Regions from separate parts of the Homo sapiens genome. Here all the other regions are linked to region 3. Evidence: promoter capture Hi-C in 16 types of primary human blood cells and fetal thymus (Javierre and others, 2016). All regions are on one chromosome and are shown on one strand. The core of a region is centred on a gene start or on the middle of the fragment in contact, and the rest is flanking DNA. Distances in the headings are between cores, read along the strand shown.

Region 1 (4,412 bases), core at 404-2,903, 860 kb before region 3:
GTGATTCATAACATAATGCATATAAACTCTCCCAACAGTGAAAAAGCCCTATTTGGGCATCTGATGATCCATGAATTGAACCAAAGAAGTAACGATATAATCAGCCTGTAAAATGACCAACCCATTTTAAGAACTAAAAATCTATTTTTTAAGCAGAACTGAAACCCATCAACTCTTTACTGGTGTCCAGATTAATTTGCAGCTACAGAAATCTGTGGACAATGATAATAATTTCTTCAAGACCACAGAAAGAAATAAAAAGAAAGCCTTATAAATAAGAAAACCTTACAAATGAGAATGTTCAGAAAGTGCTTTACTCAATGTCTTTATGCAAACTGCGCTAATTAATCTCATACAAACATGGATATTTTTGTAAAGCATAAGCCCAAGTGCCATTTTATGACCATATAATTTACAAGTCCTCAAATTACATTAAAATCACCACACACAGTGTTTACAGTTTAATTGCATGGTTATTTACCATTCCCAATCAAGTGTTATTCATTCAGTACCTCTTTGCCTGATCTTACCTAAAAAAGAAGACACTTTTATGCTGGATTTGAGTGGTAAACATTCAAACATGGTAATACTCAAAGGCAACAAAGATGTGATTTGGAGTAAACAAATTCCATTGACAGAGATTTCAGAGAATGTCCAGGGAGAAAGAATGAAAAGAGATCAACATTTACTAAAATAACATTTCTTTGATTGTTTCAGTTCTACTGAAAAAAGGAAACTTCACTATCTACTGCCCAATATTTATGTAAAGCCAGCTAGGACTATTATCCATATTTTACATTATAAAAACATAGTTCTTCAGTCAAGAAATGTTTATTAAGTGCCATACACATTCCAGATTCTGGGGTAAGAGTAAAGTGTAAAAATAAATAAAGCATGGCCCTTTGATGAACCCACAGATTAGATAACCACTAAGTGTGTTATAGGCATTTCCACAGTTAAGAAATATTTACTACTTATCATCCTTTTGTCACTAAACAATACCATCCTGAAATTAGAAAATCTCACTACCTACCACCATAGAATATCTGTCTTCAGGAAACTTTCTAAGGCTTAGTTTGTAAAACATGGAGGTGGGGAACATAATAGTACCAATTTTCCTTCAATGGTAATATGATTGTAAAGGCTGAGTAAGACTAAAAACTCTCTACAGATTCCTTCTTTGGGATCTGCCTCTGTAGCTGACTTACATTCCTACCCAGGCAAACTGAAGCTTTATTTGCTTTCCTACGTTGCCTAGCAACTCACAATGCCTCACACCCCTGTTAGGATACTAGACAGTTATATCAGGAAACAGTTATTAGATAAATTAACTAGAATGACCCTTAATTCCTAGGATATAACTTTGAATTTTGTCTTTGGGGAGCTAAAATTTTTAATAAAGTGGTCCTCATTATGAAGTCCTCGGACCACCTGCATTTACATTTTATCACATTTTGAAATAGTCTTAGGGAATAGACATTATTATCCATATTTTCAATGTGAAAAATTGTTAAATCAGTTAAATAACTTTCTAAAATTTAAATGATTAGAAACTGGGATTCAAACTGATATCTGCCTGTTTGTCCAGCACATAACCTTTGTACTACATCCTGTCACCTTTGGAAAAGTCAGTTTTAACATGTTGATGATTAATCTAATTTCCCAATTAATTGCTCAATTTTCATTAGGCCTCAGCACTTACGTAGATGCTAATATGTTTTATTCAATATTAAATCACAAAAAAAATCTGTAGACCATATACAGCATGCATGTAATTCATATCTATACAACCACACACATTTTCCTTTAGGGAACTAAGAATGATACATGTAAAATGGTATTTATGTTCTTCATTGCCAATTTTCAAAACAGTGTCACCTTCTGCCTGTAACACATGCAAGTGAAATGTAGCAAACTAAGGTGATTACCTTTGGAAATTGTTGGCCCTAAGATATAGATATTTAAATGACTTTCAATCTGGAAAGTGCATTAAACATATGACCTGTCATTACCATCCAACAATTATCCAAATGGAATCTGAAATATAAAATTATTTCAAATGCTAAGGCTTTGGAGAAGCTTTGGAAAGATATGCGTAGAGGAATATAAGTCCATTTTGTGCAGTGAATTTTGATAATTGAGTCAAGAATGTAGTTACAAATTCTATATCTCCTACTTTATATCTGGCTCTAAATCAAAGAAACTAAGTACAAAATGAGAGCATAGGATTTAGAGACTGGCATAAAACTGGAAGAAAATAAAACACAATAGGCACAGGCCTCACAGTTTTTGTGGAATATCAGTAACTGAGGATTTTCTTTGGGCTCTGGCTGTGGAATATTAGATATCCATACATCCACTGGGAAGTTATTTAGTTGGTAGCCCTTTAGATGATACATGTATTATAAAGCATGCATGTTTCAAACATGTACATGATGGCTAAAATACAAGATAAGTATTAATATTAAAAAATCCACAAAAGATTTTTAAGGATGTAATTTTTTTCTAAGTATGTGTTATCAAGTGGAATTTGTGGATAAGCTGTTGTAGATCATGATTGGAACATGTCATTATTAAAGAGTGATTAATATTTTAACCCAGTAAAGGAAAATTACAATTAAAGTTTTCAGAGCTGGAACACCTTAGAGGTGATCTTTTCTGACTCTTTGATTTCACAAGTTAGGAAACAGATTCAGGAAATTAAATGATTTGTCTAATGTCATTCGGCTAATAGATGGAGGAAGAGATGGCGCTTGAATGATCTTTCTGGAAGAACATTCTTTCAAGTTCACATTTTTCATTTAAATGAGTAAATAAAAGAAACAAAACAGCTTTTGTCAAAACTAAATTTAAAAACTACAATTACTTACAAAAAAGTCTTTTTGAATCCATACTGTATGCTATATGAATAGATATATCCCCCCAAATTTTACTGGATGTTAAATGGCTAAATTTCTACCTCTCATATTGAACATTACCTTGTATATGTAGAGTACTGCACCGTTAGAGCAGAGAAAACAGAAGTTAATACAAATTGTGTTTTTCAAAGATCATACAGTAAGTGAAAAAGCTAGAGCTTCTATTTAGGACCTTGTGATTCTAGAACACACATCCTTTCTGCCTGGCTATGCTACCTTTCACTGAGATGGACTAGGAGAACAAGACACTTATAACACAGATCCAGCTAACAAAGTGATAATTTAAAAAAACATACACAGAGAAAACAAAGAAAAATAGAAAGTGAGAAAAGAGCTGGGGTAAACATAGAAGATAGAGAGAATGATCCAAATGAAACATAATAGGCTTTGTCTTTATCATCAAACATTTTGTCATCATATAAGTATAATTCATTTGAAGAATCTCAGTGTTGTGCAAAAATGTAGAATATTATAATCAACTTAGGAATTATCGTAATAAAACCCCTAGGAAAAATTACAATTAACTTGAGTCAATTAGATTTCTCAAGGATCCTTGACTCTAGCTCTGGCTAACAGGATTCCTAATGAGACAATTAATATTAGCTAATATCAGTATGATTGATTTAAAGGGAACATATAATTATATAGATGTGTGTATATAAAAGTATAGGTTTCTGTATGACTGTGCTTTACATCTATTCAAGTATTCAAAATTCTCAAAATATTTTGAAAGCATGTAAAGATAAGAGAATTCTCATTCCATAGGTAAAAAGCTGAGATTTGAAAATCATGCATACTAGGGCTCAGAGGCAAGGTAAACAGCCTTAGAAAGCCAGGCTTTTGTGTGAACCAGCCTATTGAAATGTCAGTACAGTTAAGGAGTGAGTTTGGGGAATATTTGTTGAGTGCCAACCATGTATCAGTCACTTTCGGCAAATCATCTCCTTACCCTTCACAGTCTCAGAGGGATATGTCGTTATCCCTATTTTACAGATTAGGAAACTGAAGCTAAATAAGCTTAAATAATGACCAAAAAGAGTGGTCAGCATTGCCATGTATTGTTGTATACTGCACAACAGCATCTGGTAGTGAGGAGAGGCAAATTGGGTCTGCCATACGTTTGTGCTCTGCCTGCCCAGGGATGATCTCTGGCGTGGGGCTGTTATTACGGAGAAAGGAAGTGCCATTTTCTAATTTGCTCAAAGGTCAGCGGTCTCACAGAATTACAGAATAAAAATTTGAGCCCATTTATGTCTGAGACATAGATCAAGCTTTTTCTACCATGTCTTGAAGCCCCTGGCCCCCCTCAGAAAGATGCAATCAGAGTAAGTCATGAGTAGCTGCAGCCCATCTCATTCTGAAAGGGCTGGACAATCTGAATCTTAAAGAGTTATTGAGGACAATGAAGGAAACTCTCAAGGAATTCTCCCCTGACTCTTTGAGACAAAACATTATCTGACCTTGAGATCTGAGTATAGATAGAGGGGGAGGAAA
Region 2 (3,866 bases), core at 759-3,258, 830 kb before region 3:
GCAAGAGTTCAACTAGGCCAGGCACAGTGGCTCATGCCTGTGATCCCAACACTTTAGGAGGCCAAGGCAGGAGGATTGCTTGAGCCCAGGAGTTCAAGACCAGCCTGGGCAACATGGCAAGACCCTCTCTCCATGAAAAAAAAAATTAAGAGAAAAAAAATTAGCTGGGTGTGGTGGCATACGCCTCTGGTCCCAACTACTTGAGAATCTGAGGCAGGAGGATTGCTTAAGCCCAGGGGTTCAAGGCGGCAGTGAGCTGTGTTCATGCCACTGCACTCTAGCCTGGGTAACAGAGCAAGATTATCTCAAAAAAAAAAGTTTAACTATTATTTGCCAAATGAATGAATGTGTCCTCATTAGCTAATCTGAACCAATTTATGTACTCAGGCACACTAAATTAGACATAACTTTATATGACTTTCAGGTTTCAGTGTGTCTCAGGGTTACCTGGTATTTAAAATAAACTAAGAGAAAATATAACAAATATACCTTAAAATCCACATCTCAAGAAAAATCTAAGAAACTTCCTATTTCTGCGTTCCCAAGTCTATTGTAGTTTAGTTTAGTGACTCTTGTGTATTCCACCGAACGACTACATCAGGATCATATGCAGTGAAATATCAGATCCCCTGGCCCCAAACCTGAACTCAGAACTTCCGAATCAGAAAAAAGGGGCTTGAATGTACGCATTTCTTACAAGTGTCTGAGATAATACTCATCGACATTGACTTTTGAGATTCACGAGCCTAGAAATGGCCTTTTGAGTCATTCTTTTAAATGAAAGCCCTAGATCTGCAAGCAGAACTATCCTTTGAGGATTATGGCTTTAGCATCTCTCCCTGGCTTTCGTTCCCTCTGGGAGGAGGCAGAGTAGTCTGAAATTAGGCTTCCAGAATTAGAGTAGTCTGAAGGCTTTAGCAGCAGGCTGTTTCAGTTAAAAACATAGAATATGTAAGAATCTAATATATCAGAGCTAAGGATAAAGGGAAGCCTAAAGAGAACTGTGTCCTGTTATTATTACGGAAATCCTCCATATTGGATGCCAATCCAGGTCAAAGTTGATTGACTCCTTAGTTCCTGTCCATCCTAGTTTAACCATTGTGTTTCCACCTGTGGTGACATGGACATGGTCCAGAAACTGACACTTCCAATTCTATTTCAATTTTAAGAACACTTAAAGAGCAGTCCCTGAGGGTCAGGATTGGCCATTCGTGGTAGTCCATATAAAAAGCAAAAGAAGAAGTAAGTGGATTATTTCTTCCCCATCCAGGGCACCATGGCCATCTGGATTGCAGATATACAGGTGTGTGTGTGTGTGTGTGTGTGTGTGTTTGTGTGTGTTTTCTAGAAAGAAAATACTCATTTCTTGTCCCCCTTTTCCCTTCAACAATGTAAGCCATTTTATTCCACCCAGGAGCTTTGTAATGAAAAAGGTCCCTTGTCTTTTGATGACTTCCAATGAATAATGGTTTGTAACACTAAAATGCCAAACTGCAGGGAAATGGAGGGAACTCGGTTGGTTTACAGGTAAGCAAAGTCAGAACTAAGTAAAAACCCTTTAAACTCCTGGGCAGAATGCCAACTAGAAGAATATTTCAGCATCACCTAATTATGATAAGGATTTTTTTATTTCTTCATTATAAATATCTTTCTACACTCACTTTGGCTTCCTGAAGTTTGCATGCTCAGAGATAGGTGAATAACAGCATGAAGAGAGAAAACTGTGCTGCATTTGGAATCAAAGTGTTCAATTATTGGGAGAATGTAGTCCCTGGGACATATGCTGAGGCAGTAAGGGCTGGTCCATTTCCAGATGGAGCTCTTGCACCAAAACCACAGAAGGATTGTGAATTTGATTTCTCATCTAACAAAGCTTCATTTCAAATACAGCTTCCTGAGGATCCTGCTCTGAAACAGATTTACAAGAGAGCCAACAAAGACCGTGTAAAAATAGTTCTAAGCAAAGATCATGTAATAAATGCATAATAATCTCTAGTATCTGTAGACTACCATAATTATCACTAAGTCAAATTACTCAATAATTCCAGACCAATGCTTCCATTGCTATTTGAGGGAAGATACTGATCACAAACGTGACAGTTCTTCTTTGGGGACAGGTCATATCAAGGTGTCAATATTAAGATGAAGCTTCCTTGAAACTTCTCTAATGTTGGAGCGTGATGAGCTTTAGAAAAATGGTGATAAGTAAAAGGGACCTACACTTCCCTACGATATTCAAAAGATCTTCTGAAATTAGCAGATATTAAAGAGTCATGAGCATGAAGGGTATAGTCTAACCCAATACCGGCTGCACAGTTAAATGTGCCTAAAATGTGACATATATCGGTGGTATCAAAATTTCCAGCAAAGGAATAGAGACCCCAGTGCTCGTGAAATCATGAATTGCCCACAGTCAATTCCAGGACGAAATTTACTCACATGGAATGATATTAATATTTGCTCAGAGTAGACTATTAGTTCTCAAAATATTGTGAAAGCAAATATGTCAGAAACACTAGAGGCAATTCTCTGATCACTGACACAATGTTCATCTTAGTAAAGGTATGATAGAACCTGAAATTAATTTTGTTAATTCTATATGTGAAACAAAGATGAGGTGTCTAATATGAGTCCCAGCTGCAGTGAGTTGAGATATAGGCGGGATAATGAATCATCTGATGTCTAATGTACATCATAATCATTATATCACTGGCAGAGCACAGGCAGTGTCTCTCAACCCAGGTAGCCTATGCTGGGGAGTTTTAAAAATATTGATGACTGTGGTTCTCCCCTCTTATTCTTATTATTTAATAAATCTGGGGTATGCCCTGGGAATCAGTATTTTTTAAAGCTCCCCCAGGTGACTGTAATGTACTACCAAGGCCATGTGCCACTAATCACTGGTGTAGGGCATTGTTTCTCAACTTTGTACATGTTAAAAATCACCTGAGAAACTTTATAAATATCCCAATGTAGTCTGTATCCCAATGTAGTCATCCCAGACCAATTAAATCAGAATGAGAAACTTCTAGATATAGGATTAAAAAAAAAGAGTCAGCCTAGGTCATTGCATTTTGCAACCAGGGTTGGGAGTTACAGACAAAGGGTTAGCTTTCTCACAAAGCAAGTTAAATGCATTTTAGTAGCTTTCTAATTTAAAGAATTCTTGCCTGTAAAACATTATTTTGATTGTCAGGAGTCTATCATATATATGTATACGTATTCATTCATACACATACGCTCATGATGGGATTGCATTGAACTTGAATATTTGTATCAGAATTTCAACATCAGAAAATACTGGCAGAAAAGGCACTGGAGTTTCTTTTTTCCTTTTTAATTTGTAAAACTGGGACAGATGATTCTCATCTCAGGTTCTGTGAGTAGAAAATCTTTCCTCCAGGAGATACTGTCATTCAGCTGTTCAAATCCTAACGTGCTTAAAAATTGCTGATGTGCTACTTTTTTTTCTTTCCAAAGGAGTTGGTTATGAAACATCTAAAAATGAAGCATGAAACAAAAGAGAGAGTTAACTTATAATTGCTCTGTTGAAACATTTCGTGCAGATCTTGGCAGATTGGTGAATCCATTTGCAAATCTCGAAATTTGGAAATCAGCAGTTCTTAGGTATACAGAGTCATTATATTCAAGGATTATGTCACTGTATTTGCAAATGCTAAGTGGGTTTTGAACAAATGAAAGATTGAATAAAAGATTAATTAATATTATATGTACCAAACGTATCACTAGGTGCTTCTAAAATCTTTTACTCATGTAACACTGATAAAATTTCTGTGATTCATAATTTTATTATACATGTTTTTAAAATTAAGAAAATGCAAGCTCATAGAAGTTAAGGAATTTTC
Region 3 (3,884 bases), core at 1,342-3,841:
CAGCTTTGATGTCATGTAAGTGTCTATGTCTAAGAATACAAAAACATACATTGCATAGCCCCTAGTACTCTCTGGTTTCATGGACCAAAACGTGCAGGATTGTATTCCTTATTCCCATAGTATATGGTAGCACTTTAATTTTTTAATGTCTTCATGCCTTCCAACCTTCAAAACAAGGAGCACAGTAACTGCCTCTGCCTACTCTGCTAGCAGGATTTACGGATCACATCTTTCCTGGGTATTCTTGATCTTGTGGCTGAGGTACATTCCTTTGAAACCACCTCTTCCACCCCACCCCACACAGAGTAACTCAGTCTTTCTAACTTTAAGCCAGTCACACAGAGCATCTCCAACAAAACCTGAAACTTAGGCATTTGGCGCTTGTCACACCCAAGGCATGGCTTTCTGAGATTTAGCAAATTCCAAAAAGGTCGATATGATTCTTCCTTTGTGTTACGTATTCAAAACTTAAATTTTAATTTTAATCGTTAGGATATGTAAAATGTTTAAATGTAAGTGTGTCCTGGGCATATTAGCATAGTTTTATTTTGCCAAACAGAGGAAAGTCTTGGGTTTTGAATTTGGAAGCAAATTTTAAACTCTAGGAAAGAGAAAGATCAATGGAACAAAACATCTGTACATATATCCATTTATTATTATCGTCTGTGCTCATATGACTGGCTCCAAGATAATAGCTTACAACCAGTAGTGCTGGCTTCACCGACTTCCCATTTAAAATTACAACATTTTCTCTGTATTTGCATTAATTTAATGATGTATATGACTATGCCTGTCTTTAGAAGAAAGCCCTTCTGAGTTTCATAATTCTGATTTTCTCGATTAATGTGTATGTAGACCATCTACGTATGCACATAAATAAATGAGAATGGCACTTGTTTCCAAACAATTATTAGAAGCAGTAACATACAAGGATTAGGGGAGAGGAGGGTTATTGCATCTACCTGTGAAACCAGAATTAAATAGTTGCTCCTCATTTCATCAGGAGAAAGGAATGTGCTCTGGGGAATAGTGCGATAGTCATAAAGCACTGACATAGCTAAACAAAATATCTGCCTGGTGCAGGTATTTCAGTTCTGGGAATGGATGTAGAAAAAGTCCATATAGGGGTAGACAGGAAGAAATGAGGTCCATGTCTCTTTCTTTCAATTATCTATGAAAATGAAGACACCAATCCATGTCATGTACACGAATGAAGAAAATTCTTGGGTTAATTCATCTCCAAGCGTGTCTAAAGGTGGGAGGGTTTGTAGAGTGAAGGCACTCAAAATTCATTTCCCCATTGTCTGAGAATTTTTATGCACCTTTCTCATCTGAAGGGCTCAATTTTTTCTTGAAGGGTACACACAATGCTCCACCAAAGCTCATTGTGCAATTTTATTTTGAACCCTTGAAGGACAGCTTTTCTCTAAGAAATCTAACACAAAAACGCCCTTAATTAACAGGCTTTTTTTTGCAGGGTGGGGCCCAAGCGGGATCCCAGAGACTGGAAGTGTGAATTTTAATGCTTTGCTGTCAAAGGAGGCGACTCTGGACATTCTCATCACCTTATTTAAAGCGGGGTACGCTGACTAATACGTGAAGCTGTGCATTAATGGCCTAAATTAAGTTACAGGTATGAATTTTACATAAAACAGATTAATATTATATGTCATAATGGAATTTTAAATATTCCGTGTCCATGCATTTTTAATCTTTACGTGCTCTAATTGAATGCGCAAGGCAACTGCATTTCTTGAGCCCACTTTTGCATTTAGATGGGGTAAAAGAACCCCCCCCACGTTTTTGTTTTATTTATATTCCCTTCACCAAAAACCTGCATTCGATTCGGCATTCTTTTCCTTCTTTTTTTTTCTACTTTTGCTAAGCTTTAGCATTTTTTAAAAAGAAAACGGAAAGGCTACACATTCCATTCCATCATTATGGTTTCGGCAAATGTGAAAAGGCGAATAATGAAACGGAGGAGGGAAATATAGAACAGAATGAACGTGCCTTCTTGAACAGCGCGTCTTTCTTAAGGCACTGGAATCCCACGGATGGAGTGATGGGTGGCGGAGGGTCCCTGGGCGCCGTGCTATTAGGAGTGGCAGGGTATCCGCGAGCAGGGCCCAGGCGCTCCCTCAGCAGCCTAGTCGGGATAAGGGGGGCGGTGGAGAGTGAATTCCGGCCGCACATTCCCGCAGTTCTTCGCAGGAACTTCGCTCTCTCTTTTCCCCTCCCTTGGGCACACATCAGCCTGGCCCGACTCCCACTCAGCTCTCTTTTCTCAGAACCCCGACCCACAGCGTTGACGGAATGGAGTGCCCTTCCCATTGGCCCGAGCGTCATTCCCCGAGGTGGCACTGCCCGCCTGATTGGCTGGCCACTCCAGACCCCCCGCCCACTCCTCCACTCGGGTAGCCGGACTCCCCGCCCCCCAGCACCGCCCGGAGCCCCCGCCCTCGCCTCTCCCTCCGCGCCCCCGCCCGCGCGCCCAGCGGGCTCCGCTCGGCTCGCGCTGCGACCCGGCCCGCGCGCTGGTCCCGCCCCCGGGGCGCACGGCTCTATAAATACAGCTGCGCGGCGGGCCGGGCGAGAGCGTAGTGGAGGAGGCGCGGTTGTGAGTAGTACCGGGAGTGGGGTGATCCCGGGCTAGGGGAGCGCGGCGGCCGCGATCGGGCTTAGTCGGAGCTCCGAAGGGAGTGACTAGGACACCCGGGTGGGCTACTTTTCTTCCGGTGCTTTTGCTTTTTTTTTCCTTTGGGCTCGGGCTGAGTGTCGCCCACTGAGCAAAGATTCCCTCGTAAAACCCAGAGCGACCCTCCCGTCAATTGTTGGGCTCGGGAGTGTCGCGGTGCCCCGAGCGCGCCGGGCGCGGAGGCAAAGGGAGCGGAGCCGGCCGCGGACGGGGCCCGGAGCTTGCCTGCCTCCCTCGCTCGCCCCAGCGGGTTCGCTCGCGTAGAGCGCAGGGCGCGCGCGATGAAGGCGGTGAGCCCGGTGCGCCCCTCGGGCCGCAAGGCGCCGTCGGGCTGCGGCGGCGGGGAGCTGGCGCTGCGCTGCCTGGCCGAGCACGGCCACAGCCTGGGTGGCTCCGCAGCCGCGGCGGCGGCGGCGGCGGCAGCGCGCTGTAAGGCGGCCGAGGCGGCGGCCGACGAGCCGGCGCTGTGCCTGCAGTGCGATATGAACGACTGCTATAGCCGCCTGCGGAGGCTGGTGCCCACCATCCCGCCCAACAAGAAAGTCAGCAAAGTGGAGATCCTGCAGCACGTTATCGACTACATCCTGGACCTGCAGCTGGCGCTGGAGACGCACCCGGCCCTGCTGAGGCAGCCACCACCGCCCGCGCCGCCACACCACCCGGCCGGGACCTGTCCAGCCGCGCCGCCGCGGACCCCGCTCACTGCGCTCAACACCGACCCGGTGAGAGGCCGGGCGCCGGCCGTGGGCGGACGCCGCGGGGGATGGGAGGTTGGTGGCGTGGTGGCGGGACGCGGGCGCTCACCGTCCTCCGGGCAGGGGCGGGCCAGGAATGACAGCCCCCTCCCCCTGCTCCTCCGGGCTCCCCCGGGCCGCCAGCAGCCGGCCGGGCTCGGCGAGCGCGGGTCCGGGAGAACGCGCAGGGCGGGACTCGGGGCTGTGGGCGCCCTGGGCTGTCAAGTCCCGCCTGAGCCCGGAGGGGCCCCCCCGGCTACAGGCTGGGGTGGGGGCGTCGGCGCGCCAGCCTGATTTCCGAGGACAATCCAGGACCGTGTCGAGCGCGTTGTTTGCGCCTGCTAACCTTTCCCTTGGTGTTCGGTTGCTGTTCCAGGCCGGCGCGGTGAACAAGCAGGGCGACAGCATTCTGTGCCGCTGAGCCGCGCTGTCCAGGTGAGCGCGCATTTCCCGTC

The links. Contacts are between HindIII fragments. The CHiCAGO score rates a contact against its expected background, and 5 or more counts as called.
Region 1: a contact is called between a fragment that was not itself captured here and the fragment with the promoter of ID4 in region 3, in 1 of 17 cell types (endothelial precursors). The highest score is 5.1, in endothelial precursors.
Region 2: a contact is called between a fragment that was not itself captured here and the fragment with the promoter of ID4 in region 3, in 1 of 17 cell types (endothelial precursors). The highest score is 5.5, in endothelial precursors.

The regions. Positions count from the first base shown.
Region 1 is chr6:18,977,326-18,981,737 of GRCh38, forward strand. All of the region lies in intron 1 of LOC105374958 (a long non-coding RNA gene), which reads left to right. Among named protein-coding and RNA genes, the nearest start is that of TRQ-CTG1-1, 140 kb to the left of the region's middle. The HindIII fragment of the contact is 848 bases long and covers 1,230-2,077 here.
Region 2 is chr6:19,006,500-19,010,365 of GRCh38, forward strand. All of the region lies in intron 1 of LOC105374958 (a long non-coding RNA gene), which reads left to right. Among named protein-coding and RNA genes, the nearest start is that of TRQ-CTG1-1, 170 kb to the left of the region's middle. The HindIII fragment of the contact is 275 bases long and covers 1,872-2,146 here.
Region 3 is chr6:19,834,779-19,838,662 of GRCh38, forward strand. It overlaps ID4 (inhibitor of DNA binding 4), which reads left to right and starts at 2,592. Exons shown (of 3, transcript NM_001546.4): 1 at 2,592-3,417; 2 at 3,806-3,864. The coding sequence starts at 2,977. The coding sequence ends at 3,850. The HindIII fragment of the contact is 2,827 bases long and covers 1,885-3,884 here.